Regions from separate parts of the Homo sapiens genome. Here region 2 is linked to region 1. Evidence: promoter capture Hi-C in human tissues and cell types (Jung and others, 2019). All regions are on one chromosome and are shown on one strand. Each heading gives the region's core, a stretch centred on a gene start or on the middle of the fragment in contact. The rest is flanking DNA. Distances are from core to core; before and after follow the strand shown. Region 1 holds the start of CHST6 (carbohydrate sulfotransferase 6). Region 2 overlaps TMEM170A (transmembrane protein 170A).

Region 1 (4,098 bases), core at 1,464-3,963:
TAATCCTAGCTACCCAGGAGGCTGAGGCAGGAGAATCACTGGAGCCAGGAGTCCGAAGCTGCAGTGAGCTGAGATCACGCCACTGCACTCCAGTCTGGGCGACAGAGAGAGACTCCATCTCAAACAAAAACAAAAACAAAAACCAAAACCAAAAAACACATAGTCAAATGCAACATGTGGACCTTGTGTGGATTCTGATTTGAAAAAAACATCTGCCAGGAGATACCCTAGAGGTAATCAGATATATTTCAATATTGACTAATAGGTGATAGTGAGAAATTATTATTAATACTATTATCACTACCCAGAACAATCTTGTTCATGTATTTCTGGACCCATTTCCCCGCCCAAGACACTAGAAGCAGAATGGTGTCTGTCTCATTAAAGACAGTAGGTATAGAGCACTGAGGTTAAGAGTGTGAATCCCACTTGACCATTTACTGAGCGATCTTGTGCAAGTTACTTCCTTCTGTGCCTGCTTGGTTAAAAAAAAATCTGGAAGGTCAGGTGCGGTGGCTCACACCTGTAATCCCAGCACTTTGCGAGGCTGAGGAGGGCGGATCACGAGGTCAGGAGTTTGAGACCAGCCTGACCAACATAGTGAAACCCCATCTTTACTAAAAATACAAAAATTAGCCGGGCGTGGTGGCGGGTGCCTGTAATCCCAGCTACTCAGGAATTTGAGGCAGGAGAATCGCTTGAACCTGGGATGCGGAGAGGTTGCAGTGAGCCGAGATTATGTCACTTTCACTGCACTCCAGCCTCGGTGACAGAGCGAGACTCCGTATCAAAAAAAAAAAAAAAAATCTGTAAAGTGGGGGAAACAATATAACCCAACTCATGGGCTTGATTGAAAGAGTGAGTGAGTGGATATTTGTAAAGCAGAACAAAGTCTGGCGCATAGTGCACTTATGAGTATTTGCTTAGCAATCTTCCTTCCTGGGCCACACTTATATTCTATGAATCCAAGGGAAAGTCTTTGAATGAGGAAAACCCAAGGACAATGGCTCTACCAGATTCAGGTGCCCCAGTGCCCCAGCAACAGAATGTGGCAGGCACAGACAGGGTCCCCACAAGGGCAAACAAAACAGAAGACGCTGGAAAGTCATGGCTAGAGGCCTGGCTTGTGTTTTTTCTGAGATGGAGTCTCGCTGTTGTCCAGACTGGAGTGAAGTACCGCAATCTCAGCTCACTGCAACCTCCGCCTCCTGGGTTCAAGTGATTCTTCTGCCTCAGCCTCCCAAGTAGCTGGGATTACAGGCACTCACCACCATGCCCAGCTTATTTTTGTATTTTTAGTAGAGATGGGGTTTCACCATGTTGGCCAGGCTGGTCTTGAACTCCTGACCTCAGGTGATCCACCTGCCTCGGCCTCCCAAAGTGCTGGGATTACAGGCGTGAACCACTGCGACTGGCCTTAGAAGCTTGGCTTCTGAAGCCGGATTGGGTTCAAATCCTGTCTCTACTACCAGTGAGGGGTGTGACTTAGAGCAAGTCACTCTCTGGCTCTCTATACTCCAGTTGACTCTGTTTGTAGAACAAAGCCAGAAAAGTTCCGGCCTCTCAGGCTGGAGAGGAGCCCAGCCCCAGCTCCCGGAGCAGCATAGCACCCTCAGAGGCCCTGGTACTTGGCCTACTCGCTTGTGGGTTTAAGTCAGCCAACTCCTTTCTGCTCTTCAGGCCTCAGTTTTCCCATCCTCAAAAATGGGAAACTTGACTGCCTTGCCTCTGTGAAAAAGGGAGGAGAAAGGAAAGTCAACATTTGCTAGGCACCTGTCCTGAGGCCCAGAGGGCCTGTCCTGAAGCCCAAGATGAAGCCGTCAGAAGCAGTGACGCAGGACTCCAATTCCCCTGGGTCTGGTTCCAAATCAACCCGCCAAGCTACCGTCTCTCAATAATTCTATGGAAAAAGCCCTTGGAGAGCTTTTGAAAGTCATGTCCTTTGAAACTCAAGTATCGAGACAAAAGGGGTTCTCCCCTCGCAGTGAGGATTCTCCTGCGCAGCCGAAGCCCCAGCAAGACACTTCCAAACCGGCGCCAACAGCGGCGATGCCCTTTCCACGTTGCTGATGGAAAAGCCACTCCCAGCTCTTCCCGCCACCCCAGGTCCCCGGTGCAGGACAGAGGAGCGTCCCCAGCTGTGCCACCAGCCCGGCCCCCAGCCGACCCGAGTGTGGGGACATCCCCCGCGGAGAATGAAGAACCAACGTACCCCAAAGCTTGGCGGCTCTGCCCGAGCTGCAGCGGCACGGTGGGGGACGCCTCTCTCCCTGGACTCAGCAAAGGCTCCCAAACGTCGTCTCTTCCAAATTCCACCGCACAGCCAGCTCTTTCTCTTCACTGGGAGGGTCCGCAGGGGCTGACTTGCTCCTTAAGGTCCCAAGACTATTAAGCGACACCCGGTGAGGCCGGGAAAGGGGCTCTAAGAGGCATGGACGAGAGTTGGCGGTGACCAAGCCACTGGAAGCTCCTGGAGACTCGAGGTAGAACGAATGTGGGAACAGGGCAGGAGTCCCAGAATGGGATGTTGAGGCTGGGGGTGTCCTGGGGCTACCACAGGGAAGGACCCGGCGCAGAGCTCCCTCTGGAACCCGGCACTGCGGCCCGCGCCCTCTACTCCCCGCGCGCCGGCCGGCAACCCTCGGCGCTGCCCGGTGCAGCCCGCCCGAGCGCACACAATGAGGCGCTTTCAGACGTGGCTGCGGTCCCGAGGTGGCCAGCGGGAGCTAGCGCCGTGGGGGAAGGAAGGAGCCGGTTGGCCCACCCCCGACCGAGGGGCCACGCCTCGGGGGAGGGGCGCCGGCCGAGGGCGGGGCAGGAGGGCCCAGGTGGGCTGGGGCTCTGAGAGGCTCAACTTTTAGCCCAGAATGTCAAAGGGCGCTGGCAGAGTCACCTCTCATCTGACTACAGAGGAACGTTGTACCCCACCCCACCCCAAATCCCCAGAGAAGGGGGGCTCCTGGGAGGACAAAGGCCCTAGTGAAGGAAGTCGAATCTTAATCTTGACCCTCCTCACTCTCGGGGGCATCCTTGCGGCGAGGTGACTTGGAATCCAAACCCTTCCCAAGGCCACGGCACCTGGATGACACATGGACCCGGTGCAGTGTCCCAACTGGGAAGAGCGGAGAGACCAGGTGGCCTTAGGAGCTGGGTCCGCAGCTTTTCCCCTCCTCCTGCGCATTCCCTGCCCTAGCCTAGGCCCAGAGGCGCAGGTTCATAGCAGGTCCAGATAAAGACATGATACGTTTCAATAAATAAGATATTTCCGGCCAGGGCTGGGCGCGGTGGCTCACGCCTGTAATCCCAGCACTTTGGGAGGCCGAGGCGGGCGGATCACGAGGTCAGGAGATCGAAATCATCCTGGCTAACACAGTGAAACCCCGTCTCTACTAAAAATACAAAAAAATTAGCCAGGCCTGGTGGCGGGCACCTGTAGTCCCAGCTACTCGGGAGGCTGAGGCAGGAGAATGGCGTGAACCCGGGAGGCGGAGCTTGCAGTGAGCCGAGATCGCACCACTGCACTCCAGCCTGGGCGACAAAGCGAGACTCCCTCGCAAAAAAAAAAAAAAAAAATCCGGCCAGGCGCGGTGTCTCACGCCTGTAATCCCAGCACTTTGGGGGGCCGTAGTGGGTGGATCACGAGGTCAGGAGTTCGAGACCAGCCTGGCCAACAGGGTGAAACCCCGTCTCTACTAAAAATACAAAAATTAGCCGGGCGTGGTGGCAGGCACCTGTAATCCTAGCTACTCAGGAGGCTAAGGCAGGAGAACTGCTTGAGCCCAGGAAGCGGAGGTTGCAGTGAGCTGAGATTGCACCACTGCACTCCAGCCTGGGCGACAGAGCGAAACTGTTTCAAAAAAAAAAAAAAAAAAAATCCCCTTTACAAATAACAGGGCAGAGCCCAGGCACCTGAAAAGGATGAAGCATTTCTAGGTCTTGTCAAATTAGTGATGGGATCTTAATCAAGAACTCCCTGCTGCTGGGAGAAGAAATAAGCAGTCCTTCCTGGTTGTGGTTTGGCAAGATGAATTAAGATTCTTGACAATGGTCGTAAGCTTTTCGGATTGGTAATTCCTTTCTAGGAGCTATCTTAAGGAA
Region 2 (4,720 bases), core at 1,628-4,127, 42 kb before region 1:
ATTTAGGGATGAGAAAATGGAGGATTTTACATTTTAATTACTTAGAATTTTCAGTTTATATAAAATACACATTTATATTTATGCATGAGCTTTGAAATGATTTAAACTTATTGTTCTCATTTCTGTAACTGTTTCTTATCCCATAAGCAAAAGCCATAACAAACCAAACGCCCCAAAAACAAGCCTGAAAATAATTCATAACATCATGTTACTCCAATTCTTATTCAGAAAGTCCTAAGGGGAAAAAAATAACTAGAGCACTAATCGGGTACTTTTCTAAGCAAGAATTCTTTTTTTTTCCCCCGGGTCTTGCTCTGTGGCCCAGGCTGGAGTGCTGTGGTGTGATCACGACTCACTGCAGCCCAGCCTGGACCTCCTGGCTCCAGCAATCCTCCCATTTCAGCCTCCCACGTAGTTGGAACCACAGGTACACACCACCACACTCAGCTAAATTTTTTATTTTTATTTGTAGAGATGGGGTCTTGCTATGTTGCTGAGGCTAGTCTCAATTTCCTAGGCTTCAGCAAGCCTCCCACCTCTGCCTCCCAAAGTGCTGGGATTACAGTCATGAGCCACTACACCTGGCAAAGAATTCTTGTCATCAAAATTTGTCTTCTATCTTTACAGCAACCACACCCACATGAGTGGAAGTAATTCACCAACCATCTTGCAGGGCCAATGCTCAAGTGATAGCTGATCAGAGAGGAGAAGTAGCTTCCAAAAAGATAAATTTTCCTCTTGCTGGTGGCCTCTCTCACGAGATATATCTCACAAAGTTTAACATGACTTCCCTGAAGCCACTGAGATGAAATCTGACTCAAGAAGTCAAAGAGGTTAGCCAAGTAATAGGACCTTGGGGGTGGAAAAAAAAAATCAATACATTAAAAAAACTGGGCCAGGCACAGTGGCTCACGCCTGTAATCCCAGCATTTTGGGAGGCCAAGGTGGGCAGATTGCTTGAGCTCAGGAGTTCGAGACCCGGGCAACATGACGAAACCCTGTCTCTACAAAAAATACAAAAAAAATTAGCGGGGCATGGTGGCACACCCCTGTAGTCCAAGCTTCTTGGGAGGCTGATGGAGGAGGATTACTTGAGCCCAAGAGGTGGAGGCTGCAGTGAGCCAATATTGCAACCACTGCACTCCGGCCTTGGTGACATAGGGAGACCCTGTCTGGACTTGCAGTTAAAAGGCACTCTTTCCTTCATCCTACTCAGATATGTTTTCTAGAATAGGTCCTGAAATTGACTAGTCATATTAAACATTTTTGACTGGTATTTTAATGTCTAACATACTTGTCAAGATTCCAGCAGTAATTGGTCCCACGATGCCCATCAACAGGATGCTTACAGACATGAACCTACCATATTTGTGATGTCTGAGGGTGAAGAGGGCCAGTAATCCAGCAGGGACATGAAAGAAGAGAGAAGACACCAGTGCCCACAGGAATACACCATACCACATCTCTATGAGGGAAGACAAAGAAAAGTTGTGAATCACTGCCCTTCCCAGGACAATCATTGCAGAGGGTACTCATCATACCCGTCATTTCATTTTCAACACCGTTTCTTTTTTCCTTTTTTTTGAAAAATTTTTATTATTTTTAATTTTTTTTTGAGACGGAGTCTCGCTCTGTCACCCAGGCTGGAGTACAGTGGCGTGATCTCGGCTCACTGCAAGCTCTGCCTCCTGGGTTCACACGATTCTCCTGCCTCAGCCTCCCGAGTAGCTGGGACTACAGGCACCCGCCACCGCGCCTGGCTAATTTTTTGTATTTTTAGTAGAGACGGGGTTTCACCATGTTAACCAGGATGGTCTCGATCTCCTGACCTCATGATCCGCCCGCCTCGGCCTCCCAAGTGCTGGGATTACAGGCGTGAGCCACCGCGCCCAGTCAAAAATTTTTATTTTTAAAGACGGGGTCTCACTCCGTCACCCAGGCTGCAGTGCAATGGCACCATCATGGCTCACTGCAGCCTTGACCTCCTAGGTCTGGGTGTTCTCCCGCCTCAGCCTCCGGAGTGGCTGGAACTACAGATGTGTGCTACCACGCCTGGCAAAATTCTTTTTTTTTTAATTTTCTTTTTTTATGAGACAGGGTCTCACTACTCTGTTGCCCAGGATGGAGTGCAGTGGGAGTTTCGCCAGGCTGGTCTCAAACTCCCAACCTCAGGTGATCTGCCCGCCTTGGCCTCCCAAAGTGCTAGGATAACAGGCATGAGCCACTGCGCTTGGCCTGTATTTTCTTTAGAGATGGGGTCTCACCGTGTTGCCCAGGCTGGTCTTGAATGCCTCGGCTCAAACAATCCGCCCAACTTGGCCTCCTAAAGGGCAGGGATTACAGGTGTGAGGCCACCGCACCCGGCCTTCAACATCATTTACTTGCAAAGTAGGGTTCATCAGTCAAATATCCAAATATTGACGGTTTTAGTGTGTTCAACAAATTACTGCCTACAGACCCACCACCTGTTTTTTACACACTTATCTGAACCCATTCATAATACTTTTATACATACACACTTATCTGAAACCATTTACAAGAGTTTTGCACACACATACTTATTCAACCCATGCCCTTTCATTTAAGTATTGTTTATGGCTGCCTTCCAGCTTCAAGGGCAAAGCTGATAACAGTGACACAGACCACATGACCCATAAAGCCTAACATATTTACTATCTGGCCCTTCACAGAAAAAGCTGACCAATCTCTGTACCCTCAAACTGAAAAAAAAGGTTCATCTAGATTTCAAAATTGACCTAAATAATGTCCCCGACCATAACTGGGCACGGCAGCTCACGACTGTAATCCCAACACTTCAGGTGGCCAAGGTGGGCAGGTCGCTTGAGCCCAGGAGTTTGAGACTAGCTTGGGCAATACAGCGAAACCCTGTCTCTACAAAAAATACAAAAATTAGCCTGGCATGGTATTGCATACCTGTAGTCCTAGCTACTCGAGAGGCTGAGGTGGGAGGATTGCTTGAGCCTGGGAGGCAGAGGTTGCAGTAAGTCAAGATCATGCTACTGCACTCCTGCCTGGGCAACAGGGTGAGACGGTCTCAAAAAACTCCCCCAAAAACCAAAAAACCCAAACAAAAATAATTCCCCCATAAGAGGCACAAGCCAAAGAGCCAATTGATACGGTACTATGCAATCAATGCCTGTTGATCTTTCCTGACCTTTTGATCACTCAGTCTTCTAAAATGGACAGCTATACAATTATATTCATTCCACAATCATTTGAAAGACAATGCAGTAAATATCAAGCCATCACCTCCTATTAGGATTTCAAAGCTCTTTAGGATATGAAATAAATACCAGAAAATATAAATGTTTGGCTTGAAGACAAATGGCAGGTAAACAACAGTGCAGGTTAGGAGAGCTGGCTCCTACAGAACTCTAATCACTCTTAAGGTGTCTGTAACTCAGGCAACATTAAGATACATATAATCATCAACTATGTATGAAAAACTATGCATGAGGCACCCATATAAAGAAAACAAAACCATCCTGCTGGAATGTGACTTTACAATTTGTTAAATGGCCCATGTAGCATTTCCCCCCAGTGAACCCAAGGCAAGGCCTTAGAATCCTCAAGGTAGCTCTCCAGCTACCCACAGGGAGGGACTGGCGGTGACACATTAGATAAAACCCACTGTCCATCCTTGGCTAGAGGCAGGTAAGTAGCAAGTGATTTTTGAGATCAGTGAAGAGCTTAGCTCAGCAGGGTTTCTTGACCACCGCCCTCCGCCCTATTGACATTTGGACCAGATAACTTTTCATTGTGGGGGCTGCACTGTGCACTGCAGGATATGGAGAGGCACCTCTGGCCTGCAGCACTCTATTCCCAGTTGTGTCAACCAAAAATATTTCCAGACATTGTCAAATGTCCCCAAGGGGGCAAAACTACCCTGATTAAAAACCACGGGCTTTACCAAAGCACAGAGGCTTTATAAGAGCCATGATGGCCGGGCGTGGTAGCTCACACCTGTAATCCCACCACTTTGGGAGGTCGAGGTGGGCTAATCACGAGGTCAGGAGTTCAAGACCAGCCTGGCCAACATAGTGAAACCCTGTCTCTCTAAAAATACACACACATACACACACACACAAAATTAGCCGGGCATGGTGGCAGGCACCTGTAGTCCCAGCTACTTGGGAGGCTGAGGCAGGAGAATCGCTTGAACCCAGGAGGCAGAGGTTGCAGTGAGCTCAGATCACACCACTGCACTCCAGCCTGGGAGACAGAATGACACTCCGTCTCAAAAAAATAAAAGAGCAATGACAGTTAAAGCTATAAAGACAGATGAGGGAAACCCTTTGGGGAATTTGACACCAGACTAAGGACTTCACAAAAGATCTAAAGTGCCAGTATAGGTTTTGAGCAGTAACGGTTGTCATGACATTATTCCACAGGCCCCACCTGACACTCCTAGTTGGAATACAAACTGGAAAACCACCTTTTTGCAGGGTAATTTGGAAGTCAAATGTGCATGGCCCTTGCTGCAACAATTTTACTTCCGGGGATACACCCCACAGAAAAGCATAGGTAGGCAAGGACAGAGGTAACAAGAAGGTCCCAACAGCATTGTCCATAATATCAAAAACTAGAAGTCACCTGCATGGCTATCACTGCAGAATTTGGAAAACACATTCTGTGCACCCACGTAATACTACAAAGTCCCATTAAAATATGCAATAGATGGGCTGGGCACAGTGGCTCA

The links. Contacts are between HindIII fragments. The study calls those that stand out against the background at their distance.
Region 2: a contact is called between a fragment that was not itself captured here and the fragment with the promoter of CHST6 in region 1, in 1 of the 25 tissues and cell types used here (mesendoderm cells).

What each region holds. Positions count from the first base shown.
Region 1 is chr16:75,492,728-75,496,825 of GRCh38, forward strand. It overlaps CHST6 (carbohydrate sulfotransferase 6), which reads right to left and starts at 2,714. Exons shown (of 3, transcript NM_021615.5): 1 at 2,213-2,714. RefSeq lists an enhancer at 2,108-2,287 and a silencer at 2,588-2,917. The HindIII fragment of the contact is 2,567 bases long and covers 1,822-4,098 here.
Region 2 is chr16:75,450,375-75,455,094 of GRCh38, forward strand. It overlaps TMEM170A (transmembrane protein 170A), which reads right to left. Exons shown (of 3, transcript NM_145254.3): 2 at 1,295-1,465. Among named protein-coding and RNA genes, the nearest start is that of TMEM170A, 12 kb to the right of the region's middle. The HindIII fragment of the contact is 5,235 bases long and covers 261-4,720 here.